2 separate regions of the Homo sapiens genome follow, and region 1 is linked to region 2. Evidence: promoter capture Hi-C in 16 types of primary human blood cells and fetal thymus (Javierre and others, 2016). All regions are on one chromosome and are shown on one strand. The core of a region is centred on a gene start or on the middle of the fragment in contact, and the rest is flanking DNA. Distances in the headings are between cores, read along the strand shown.

Region 1 (4,464 bases), core at 1,965-4,464, 830 kb before region 2:
TATTGTCATCCCTTCACATAAGGGCTACTGTACTTCTGTTCCACTTCTAATGCGCTTCCAGCTCTTACTCCAAGCCTCCTCCTCTTCAGACTCCAACACCTAGCCTATAGTCACTATTGGGTGAAAGGTGGCCATTGCCACCACACAAGTTAAGAATCAAATCAAAGAATGTTAAAGCCAAACTCCAGAAACTGTCTAGTCAAAAGAGGAAACTGGTATCAAAAGCAGGCACACAATAGTAGGCATCAGTCAAGCCAAGACCAAAATTCCTGTCTCCCGTCTGGCAGTCCAGTGCTTTCGGCATGGTACTACACATGCAGCCAAATGAGGAAGCCTGGAAAGAGCTGGGGCAGTGAAAGCAGAGGAAGGGAAAGTGGACAACTTGGAAAGAGAGATGTGTGCCAACCTGGAATGCAATCCAAACAGGAACGGAACTACTCTGGCAACCTAAAATCTTTCAAATTGTTTAAAATAAAATATTATTCCATTCAACAGAAATATTTTTTAAAAGGAGGAAGCTCTCGACGGGAGGATCGCTTGAGTCCAGGAGGCGTAGGTTGCAGTGAGCCCACATCGCACCACTATACTCCAGCCTGCATGACCGAGTGAAACTGTCTCAAAAAAAAAAAAAAAAAAGAGGAAGCTCTCCATCATACTGATATGAAAAGATTGCCAAGATAAGTGAAAAAAGGAAATAAGGTATAGACAGTACATATACTATGCTACGGTTTGTTTAAAAGGAAGAGGTGAGTAAGAATGTATTCTAATAGGCCTAGCATGGTGGCTCTGTAATCCTAGCACTTTGGGAGGCCAAGGCAGGAGAACTGCTTGAGTCCAGGAGTTTGAGACCAGCCTGGCAAAATAACAAAAATCCATGTCTATAAAAAATTTAAAAATTCGTTGGGAGTAGTGGCGCATGCCTGTAGTCCCAGCTACTCAGGAGGCTGAGGCGGAAGGATTGCTTTAGCCCAGGAGTTCAAGGCTGCAGTGAGCCGTGATTGCCACTGCATTCCAGTCTGGGCGACAGTGAGACCCTATCTCAAAAAAGAAAAAAAGGAAAAAAGAATGCATTCTATTTTCATTGTAAATGTAAATAATGAGAAGATAAACAAGAAGTCATAAATAATGATCAGGGCCAGGAACATGGTAAGAAGGAGACTTTTACTTTTTATTTTATGTGTATTTTGAACCATGTGAACCTATTACCTGAATTTTAAAAATGTAAACAAAAAAGGACTAATGTCGCTAATGGTCCATATGATGAAATATTATGCAGCCATTAAAAAACATGCTTTCAAAGAATAATTAATGCCCTAGGAAAATAAAAATCAGAAAACAAACCTATGCCAATAATACATAATAATAACAACTCTGTAGTTTAATCTTCATAGCAATCTTATGAAGTCCACAGCATCAGTATCCCAATTTTAAAAATAAAGTCTACAGAGTTCCTAAGTTGGCTGGATCAAACCCAAGAAGTTGACTCCACAGTGATCCCAAATTTTAAATGCACAAAAACCAAAGGAAAATAAGGTAAAATGTTAAACACTGGTTCTCTGGGTGGTAGAATTATGGATGGTTTTATTTTTCTCCTTTATCTTATTCTGAATTTTAATTTTTTTCTACCGTGTACACATATTACATTTACAATATGCCAAAAACAGTAAATTTTTGTTAAAGTAAAACCAGGGAAATAATAAAATGCCAAAATCTTCCATTATTGTGGATGGTAAGCTGTCACAGACACAAAAATCTAAAGGGTTATGTTCAAGATCAATTAAGAGCAGAGGCAGGCCCAGAAGCCAGAACCAGTCTATTATATCACACTTTCTTATCTATGCCATCCTCTTCTGGTGGAGGAATGATTCTGAAAGATCTGCAGAGCACAATTGTGGAAGTTGACACTACATCAGATGAGCCATTTCTGGTTCAAATTTCTTGTCATGTCACTCCAAGACAGTAACATGCATATCACATGCGCCTCAACCAACTAAACAAAAAATGATGCCTGAATAGAGAGTGGTCAGCAGACTCCCCAAAATTTCTTTAGTTTAGAGAGAGAGAAAGTGAAAGGGAGAAGTAGAAAATGGGTGGAAAAACGTAATAATTACAAAAATACTCTTAAGTTTTTGGGGTTACAGATCCCTTTGAAAAATGGATGACAACTATGGACTCTCTGCTCAGAAAAACATACATGCAAAAATTTTACAAATAACTTGAGACTCCAAAGTCTTTCTGTGAATCCTAAGTTAGCAACCATGGATTCTGAGTCAGACTTCTATTCAATAAAAGAAGTAACTTCAGTCAGATCTGCTTCTGGGATCTGATAGTTCTTTGTGCCTGGAAGAGTTCAAGCAAAAATTAGGTGAGAAATTGGCAGATGTGTTATAAAGGAGATTAAAATACTGAAAGGGGCTGGTTTTCTAACCTTAAGATTCCATGATTCCAATGTGAGCAAAAAAATACGGGCTCAATCAACTCTCTGGTTGAACACTCACTGAACGCTCTGTGGTGCCAAACTCTACATTCAGTGCTGTGGTGAGATACCAAAGTCAGAGAAGACATGGAACCCGCCTCTAAAGAACACTGAAATTGTGGGAATATGTAAAGTGTGCTTAAATCTACAAAGCAGGAGCTTTACAGGTTACAGAGCTCTTTTACTTTCCTTATCCAAGTCAAGCTTCATGACAACAAATTAAAAGGGGAAAGAAGCACTTAACACAGTGCTAATAATAATAAAATATATTCATTGAATGCTTACTACATTCCAGATACTTTCAATCAAGCAGCAAATAATATTTGAGCACCCACTTGGTGTCAGGCACTGCAGTAAGCACAGTGAATACACAGCAGAATCTGTGCCCACATACATCAACTAATTTATTTAATCAATCCTATGAACTGTTATTTTTGTCTCTAATTTATAGTTGAAGAAATTCAGGCTCAGAGAGGTTAAGTTACTAACCGAAGGTCATACAGTCAAGAGGCAGACAGGAGATTTCACCCAGGACCACTGGAACTCAAATCTGTGCTCTTCTCCACTGCATCCTGGTGCCAAGCCCACAACTCCAAAACTACAGCTTTCCTGGATCATTTCACAATGTCAGCTTCTCATCATGCAGATATCTCAAGTCCCCAAGCACTCTAGACGTCACTGATGACAGCAGGAAGAACAAGGCCTTCTACTTACTTTAGCCTTCACTTAATTCTAAAGTCAAATTTATGAGTCAGTGGGACAGGTATTATAATCCCCAAGTCTACAAAACTGAGGGAGAAGAAGGCTATCTTAGCCACTGTGAGAAACGGAAATAATCACAGAGCAAGAAGAAACACCAAGCAACTGATCTTTATCCAGCACAGCAAAGTGCATCTGCTCTTGAGCAAATCCAGGGCCCACCACTACTGTAAATGGAAACTGGTATGCCTTGCCAAAACAGAAAGTGGCCACAAAAATAAATGTTATTTAAGTGAAATAATCAGACGCAATGCAAGATCAGCGCTGAGCCTGAGTCCTGATCTCTGTTTAAGAGACATGAGCAATTGTTAGAGAAGAGTGAAGGTGTGTTAGAGAGGAGTTGGGGCAGTATGTCAGAACAAACGAGCACTACGTTTATTGAGAATAATCAGAAGAAATGAAAGAGCCTGTAAAGGAGACTACCTGCTTGGCTACGTGATTACATACATGTTATCTGATAAAGTGTCCACCCAAAATCATGTCCGGTGTCACTGTTTAGTGCTTGACACAAAGTAAGCTTTCAGTAAAGAACAGCTGTCGATGTCATTGTTTGGAATAACTGTTTTTCTCCATGTTATTGTTGGGATTGGATCGCAGAATAGCTGGTGCCATAAGACTGCCAACCTCAGCTCACCAGGCTTGTCCTTGTCACTTATCAGAGGAGTAAACTGAGACCCAGAGCCACGCGGTCGGCTAGTGGCAGGGCAGAGCCGGATACCCGGGCCCAGTGCGACGCTCGCGCCTCATCCTTTCTCCTTAAGGCGAGGACATCCTCCTCAAAGGGAGGGACCTCCCCCCGCAGACACCCGGGAGCTCCCAAACTCCCCGAAGCACTCACCTTCATGACTGCCAGGCCCGGAGGCCACCGAGACTCGGCCAGGGAGTCCATGGTCGCTCCCGAGGATGCTGGGGGTCAGCCACCCACTAGCCTCCGGCGCTCCAACACCACTCGAAATTCCCCGCGCTACCGCATTACGTCAGCAGCCCGCGACGCGCCAGAGGCGGGCGCGGAGCCTGCCGGAAGTTGTAGTAGTATGTGGGCGGGGCGCCGCTTAAGGGCTTGTACTGCGCATGCGCCAGGCTTCTGCCGCACTTACCTTGAAGAAAGTGAATGGTTAAAAAGCGTAGAGCCAGTTGAATATTAAGAAAAGATAGCCAGGAATCAAACCAAATCCAGACCTCACCAGATCTGTCAAGGTCCAGGCTCATGACCCCCCTCCGGGTCGCCC
Region 2 (6,183 bases), core at 443-2,942:
TGACACTCAGAGATATGAGGCAACTTTCTCAAAGTCACATAGCTAGGAAACAGCAATGCTAGCAAGCGCTTATGCCAGGATTCAAATCCAGGTTTCCCCATTCCAGTTCCCTAGGACTGCTAACCACAACATCACATCACCTGGTATGTACTTGACTTTCTCACTTTCCTAGTTGCCAAGCTCCCTGACAGCCATAACTGTCCTAATTACCTTTCTCTAATGACTAGCATAGGACCCAGAACACAATGGGGGATGAGTGGGGTGCCAATAAAAGCTTACTGAATTAGAAATCTTGCAATTTAAGAGGATCATGCATATTCTTGTGTATTTTTTGTGTCATGCAAACCCAGTTTGCGTCTCTCTCCCTCTCCCCACAAACCCCTGTACCCCAAGTCTCAGCATATGGGGCTAACTCAATGACCCATCCCATAACTTGTTGCAGTCCATCTCTGGTGCTGGCCCCTCTCTGGGGTTATCACCTGGGTTTCGGCCTCAAGCACACGCAGGCGCCGGCTGGCAGAAGACAGCAGGGTCTCCAGCTCCAGCTGCAGGGTGTCCAGCTCCTCGATGCCGATGCCATCATCCTCAGAGCGTGCCAGCACTGCCGTGTAGCGGGGACAGACCTTCAGGTGATCCACAGACTTGAAGTCGTGGAACTGCAAGGGGCAGTCTTTCAACTCACTCATGGCCCAGGATATGGGGATCCTGTGGAGCTGGAGAGGACAGGGCCATTGATGGGAGACAAAGTGGTCTGAGAAAAGCCCAAGGGCTTCTTACCTCCAGGGACAGCCTCAAGGAAGCCCAGCTTCAGTCCCTTACTGACAAAATTGATGGCACAGTTCCTACTCACAGGGCACTTAACTGGGTACCAAGCTAGGTGCAGAGCACTTTATCAGTTTATCTCACTGAATTTCTCACTCAGCACCATGAACAAGGACCATTGTGATCTCGTTTTTACAGAGAAAGAAACTGAGACTCTGTAAGGGTGGGTATGTGCCTATGCTTCCAAGATGCAATTTGAACCCCGCTAGTCTTGAGTCTGCACCCTGATCACCATGCTATACTGCTATGCCTTGCCTCGCCTTTCTGATGCTCTTTCCTTCCCTTCTATTTCTCTTGGGTTCTGCTAAGACTTTGAGTTCCAAGCACCCCATTCTTACCATGTTCTCTGGGACTCTTGGCCTCTTTTCTTACCCTATTCCACCTTTCTCCCTTCTCTAGTCACTAACAGTGGTTTAGAACGTGGGCTGGTAAGCCAGACAGACCTGGGTTCAAGCCCAGGCTTTACCATTCTCTACTTATATGCCCCTGAACATGTTATTTGACCTTTTTCAGTCTCAGTTTTTCCATCTGTAAAATGGGGACAAAAGAAGTCTCGGTCTGTTTCCCCATTAAAAGTCTGAATCTGAAAAATGGGGATAACAATAGTACCTACCTCCCTGGGATGTTCTGAGGATTAAGAGATGATGCCCGTCAAGAGCCCAGTTCAGTGTCTGGCACAGAAGTGGGACTGTTTAATGGCTGGCCCCGCCCGGGGGTCGCCCAAATGTCCCGCCTTCAGAGTCCTCGTTCTCTAGGGACACCCTAGTGCGACCCCCGCCCCCTCTACCTCCTCGCTGCGGCCTCCTACGGCCCCAGGGGCCGCGGGAGGGGGCGGGGAGTTCCGGTCGATGTGAGCAACCGCCCCGGAACTGGCTATGGGCGGGCCCCTTGCAGTTGACGCGGGGGCGGGGAGTCAGCGAGGGCGAGCCTACTGGAGTTTGCCGGGGGTGGGAAGAAGGTGGGCCTCGAGCAAAGCCGCTAGAGGTGGGGTGCGGGTGGTCGGCCTCAGGCGAGCCCCGGGGCACAGCCCGGGGCGGGAGGCGGAGCTTGGCGGCCGAGATCTCCGCGCTGCAGTTAGCCCCGCCGAGCGCCAGGAGCTGCGGGTAGGAGGGGCGAGAGAAAGGATGGGGGTACAGAACCGGAAGAAACGAAGGGCTCGTCCGCTTCGGCTTGTCCTAATTTGGTGCCCAATCTGAAGCTGGGCTGTACCATTGCATACCTGGGGGAGGCTGTGGCAAAGGTGACAAGAAGGCCGAAGGCACAAAGGGAAGCTGCACCCATTCCTGGAGGAGCTTAAATAGTGACTCGAGTGCAAGAATTTAAAAATACCGAGACAGCCCTAGGTGGAAAACTTCCGGAAGGCCCAAGCGTTCGTAAGGGCTCTCTACCCCGCTCGGAGCATAGATGGTACCGTCCGGAAGTCCGGGCGGAGACCGTAGCTGCGCTTCTCGCGAAAGGGCAGGCATCGCGGGGCTGGCCACTTCCGTACTTCCGCTTTCCGGCCCAGCCAGCGCCCGCGATGGTGAGAGAGCCGGGCCCCCGGCCAGGGACCCCCGGCTGTTCGGCCTCAGGGCAGTGGGTCGGTGGGAGATGTGGCTTTGCCGCAGGGGCGCGGGGCCGAGGGATGTCCGGGGGTTGTGGGGACACGATGAGGGTGGGAAAAAGAGACGGGGCGGGGGCCCGAGGTGAGGAAGGGGCGAGTGGGGGTACTCCCTGGTATGAAGTGGGCCTTGTGGCTTCACGGTCAGCCTTCGAAGCAGGTAGGGGCTTTTCCTGAGCCCTGTAGGAACCCGGAAGTGGGGTCTCCTAGGCTCTTTGGAGCATTTCGAGGGTACGTAGTCGGCCTCTTAGCCTCTGAGGCATGAAGCAAGTCCACCTGCCTATCCACAGTGGAACTTCACGACATACGCCCTTTGTCCTCTTCTGCCTTCCTGACCCTACAGTTGCTTAAGGCAGGCGGCCACACTTCCTTATCCCATTCTTGGTACCTCCAGCCCTGCTTCCACCCCATTGGAGGATCTCTCGTGTTGCTTCCATTCAGGCCCTTCCTGGTCAGAACTGAACTGTGTCAGCCTTAGTGTATGTTAGCTGTGATACTGCTCATCCCTCCCTTCCTGGAAGTCCTCCCTTTTTCATACATGTGGGCCTTTTTCATACATGTGGGCCTTTTTCATACGTGTGGGCATTCCTGGGAGTTGTGACTTTGGATGACCATCTCCCTCTTCGTCACACCTTCCCTGGTGATACCGATCTAGTCTCCTGGCTTCGATAACTTTCTTCATTCTGATGACTCCTAATCTGGCTTCTCAGCTCTCTTTCAAGGTTTGCCTGGATATCTTGAAGAGACCTTGAAATTAGACCTCTAGTTCAAAACTCATATTCTATTCTAAATTTGTTCTTCCTCCTGGGTTCCCTATCCTGGCAAACTTTTGTGACCTCATGTCTCTGCTAAAAATCTGTATTTTTTTTTTCTAGTGGGGCACATGCCTCTTGATTTTTAAAAGTTCAAGTTTATTGAGGTATTACATGAGACTACATCTGTTTTATTCATGAAAGGACAGGCGTCACGGAGCCAGTCACCCTTTTTAGGTTTACTTTCTATAACTGTTGACAAAGGCCAGGCGTGGTGGCTCACGCTTGTAATCCCAGCACTTTGGGAGGCAGAGGCGGGCGGATCACGACGTCAGGAGATCGAGACCATCCTGGCTAACACGGTGAAACCTCTTCTCTACTAAAAATGCAAAAAATTAGCCGGGCGTGGTGGTGGGCACCTGTAGTCCCAGCTACTCAGGAGGCTGAGGCAGGAGAATGGCGTGAACCCAGAAAGCAGAGCTTGCAGTGAGTCGAGATCGTGCCACTGCACACCAGACTGGGCAACAGAGTAAGACTCCGTCTCAAAAAAAAAAGCGTTGCAAAAACTTGCTGGGTATGGTGGCATGCGCCTGTAGTACCATCCGCTCAGGACACTGAGGCAGGAGGATCACTTGAGCCCAGAAGTTCGAGGCCGTAGTACACTGTGATCACTCCTGTGAATAGCCACTGCACTTCAGCCTGGACAATATAGCAAGATCCCGTGTCTTAAAAAAAAAAAGTCAAGTTGTGTAACCACTACTGCAACCAAAATACAGAACATTTCCGTCACCCCAAAAAGTTCCCTCAAGCCCTTTTGTAATCAGTCCTCTCCTTCCCACCCCAGACAACTACTGATTTTTCCCCCCTGTAGTTTTGCCTTTTTCAGATTGTCATGTAAATGGAATTCTTTAGTATGCAGGCTTTTAAGTGTGGCTTCTTACCATAATACATTTGAGAGTCAACCATGTTGTGTGTATCAATAGTTACTCTTTTTTTATTACCAAGTAGTAGTTAATTGAATGGCTGGACCACAGTTCGTTGGAAGTGGTTTTTCTTTTTCTTTTTTTTTAAGACACAGTCTCGCTCTGTCACCCAGGCTGGAGCACAGTGGCGTGATCTCGGCTCACTGCAACCTCAGTCTCCTGGGTTCAAGCAATTCTACTGCCTCAGCCTCTCAAGTAGCTGAGATTACAGGCACCCGCCACAGCTAATTTTTTGTATTTTTAGTAGAGACGGGGTTTTGCCATGTTGGCCAGGCTGGTCTTGAACTCCTGACCTGAGGTGGTCCACCCACCTCGGCCTCCCAAAGTGCCGGGATTACAGGCGTGAGCCCCTGGGAAGTTTTTTTTCAGTTCCATTATCCACTCCATCTAATGTCAGTCCAACGCTTGTGATACTCTTTGCTTGTGATACAGTCTGCTGTATGTCTCACTTCCCTCTCCAAATCATTCTCCACAGAGCCATCATGCAGCTGCAGTCATGAACTTCCTCCTCAGAAAGCCCCAGTAGTTCCTTACCCCCTTAAGAGAAAAGCTAAACTTGGTAGCCTGGCATTCAAGATTCCCCATGATCTTACCTCAGCCTACCGCTGCAGCCTCATTTAGTGAATCTAAAATGCTTCTCATATACAGAAACATTGTACTCATTACTACTCTGGAACTCTTGCTGTCCTTTTGTGTTACTCTAATCTTAATTATTTCTTTCGCTTATTTATTCTACAGGAAATGAGTGAGACACTGTATATGTTAGGTACTGAGCTAGGTTGGAGGCTATATAGCTGTGAATAAAATAGATATGGTCTGTTGACCATGAGGTTTACAGCCTAGTAAAGGAGAAATCACTTACAAAGGCATGAAGGAGGGCAGGTGCAGTGGTTCATGTCTGTAATCCCAGCACTTTAGGAGGCCGAGATGGGCGGGTCACTTGAGGTCAGGAGTTTGAGACCAGCCTGGCCAACATGGCGAAACCCCATCTCTACTAAAAATACAAAAATTAACCAGGCACGGTGGTGCACACTTGTCATCTCAGCTATTCGCATGGCTGAGGCAGGTGAATCACTTGAACCCGGGAGGTGGAGGTTGCAGTGAGCCAAGATTGCACCACTGCGCTCCAGCCTGGACAACAGAGTAAGACTCTGTCTCAAAAAAAAATAAAAAAGGCCAGGCACGTTGGCTCACGCCTGTAATCCCAACACTTTGAGAGGCCGAGGTGGGCGGATTGCCTGAGGTCAGGATTTCAAGACAAGCCTGACCAACACGGTGAAACTCCGTCTCTACTAAAAATACAAAAATTAGCCAGGCATGGTGATGTGCGCCTGTAATCCCAGCTACTCGGGAGGCTGAAGCAGGAGAATCGCTTTAACCCAGGAGGCGGCGATTGCCGTGAGCAGAGATCGTGCCACTGCACTCCAGCGAGGGTGACAGAAGCGAGACTCCCTCTCAAAAATAAATATTAAGAAGACATGAAAGACATTTTTTTGTCAATTGTAATAAATACTTTATAGGGGGATGTCAAGGTCTCTCTCAAGAGGCCTTCCTTAATTAAGCTGAGATCTGGAGGATGACTTAGGCAAAGAAAGAGGAGAAAAGCCTACAGATAGATGGTCAAGCATGTGTAAAGCTCTGAGGTGGGAAAGAATTTGGCTGATACAAGGACTGACCAGTGCAGCTAGAAGCTAATCCCTCTCCTAAGAATGTCCTTATTCTGGCAGGGTGTGGTGGCTCACGCCTGTAAACCCAGCACTTTGGGAGGCCAAGGCGGGCAGATTACAAGGTCAGGAGATTGAGACCATCCTGGCTAACACCGTGAAACCCTGTCTCTACTAAAAATACAAAAAGTTAGCCGGGTGTGGTGGTGGGCGCCTGTAGTCCCAGCTACTTGGGAGGCTGAGGCAGGAGAAGGGCATGAACCCGGGAGGTGGAGCTTGCAGTGAGCCGAGATCGTGCCACCGCGCTCCAGCCTGGGCAACAGAGCGAGACTCTGTCTCAAAAAAAAAAAAAAAAAAAGAAT

What was found. The method cuts DNA at HindIII sites, captures the fragments that hold promoters and counts their contacts. A CHiCAGO score of 5 or more calls a contact.
Region 1: a contact is called between a fragment that was not itself captured here and the fragment with the promoter of TADA3 in region 2, in 4 of 17 cell types (fetal thymus, total CD8 T cells, naive CD4 T cells and 1 more). The highest score is 6.4, in fetal thymus.

What each region holds. Positions count from the first base shown.
Region 1 is chr3:8,959,262-8,963,725 of GRCh38, forward strand. It overlaps RAD18 (RAD18 E3 ubiquitin protein ligase), which reads right to left and starts at 4,211. Exons shown (of 13, transcript NM_020165.4): 1 at 4,074-4,211. The coding sequence starts at 4,124. RefSeq lists an enhancer at 4,059-4,228. The HindIII fragment of the contact is 1,072 bases long and covers 2,679-3,750 here.
Region 2 is chr3:9,790,781-9,796,963 of GRCh38, forward strand. It overlaps TADA3 (transcriptional adaptor 3), which reads right to left and starts at 1,693. Exons shown (of 9, transcript NM_006354.5): 1 at 1,436-1,693; 2 at 480-713. The coding sequence starts at 686. ARPC4-TTLL3 (ARPC4-TTLL3 readthrough) reads left to right here and starts at 1,768. Exons shown (of 12, transcript NM_001198793.1): 1 at 1,768-2,344. The coding sequence starts at 2,342. It overlaps ARPC4 (actin related protein 2/3 complex subunit 4), which reads left to right and starts at 2,302. Exons shown (of 6, transcript NM_005718.5): 1 at 2,302-2,344. The coding sequence starts at 2,342. It also overlaps a transcript of OGG1 not described here. RefSeq lists enhancers at 20-520, 1,625-2,151, 2,078-2,177, 2,152-2,678, 2,878-2,967 and silencers at 1,508-1,597, 1,658-1,947. The HindIII fragment of the contact is 10,858 bases long and covers 273-6,183 here.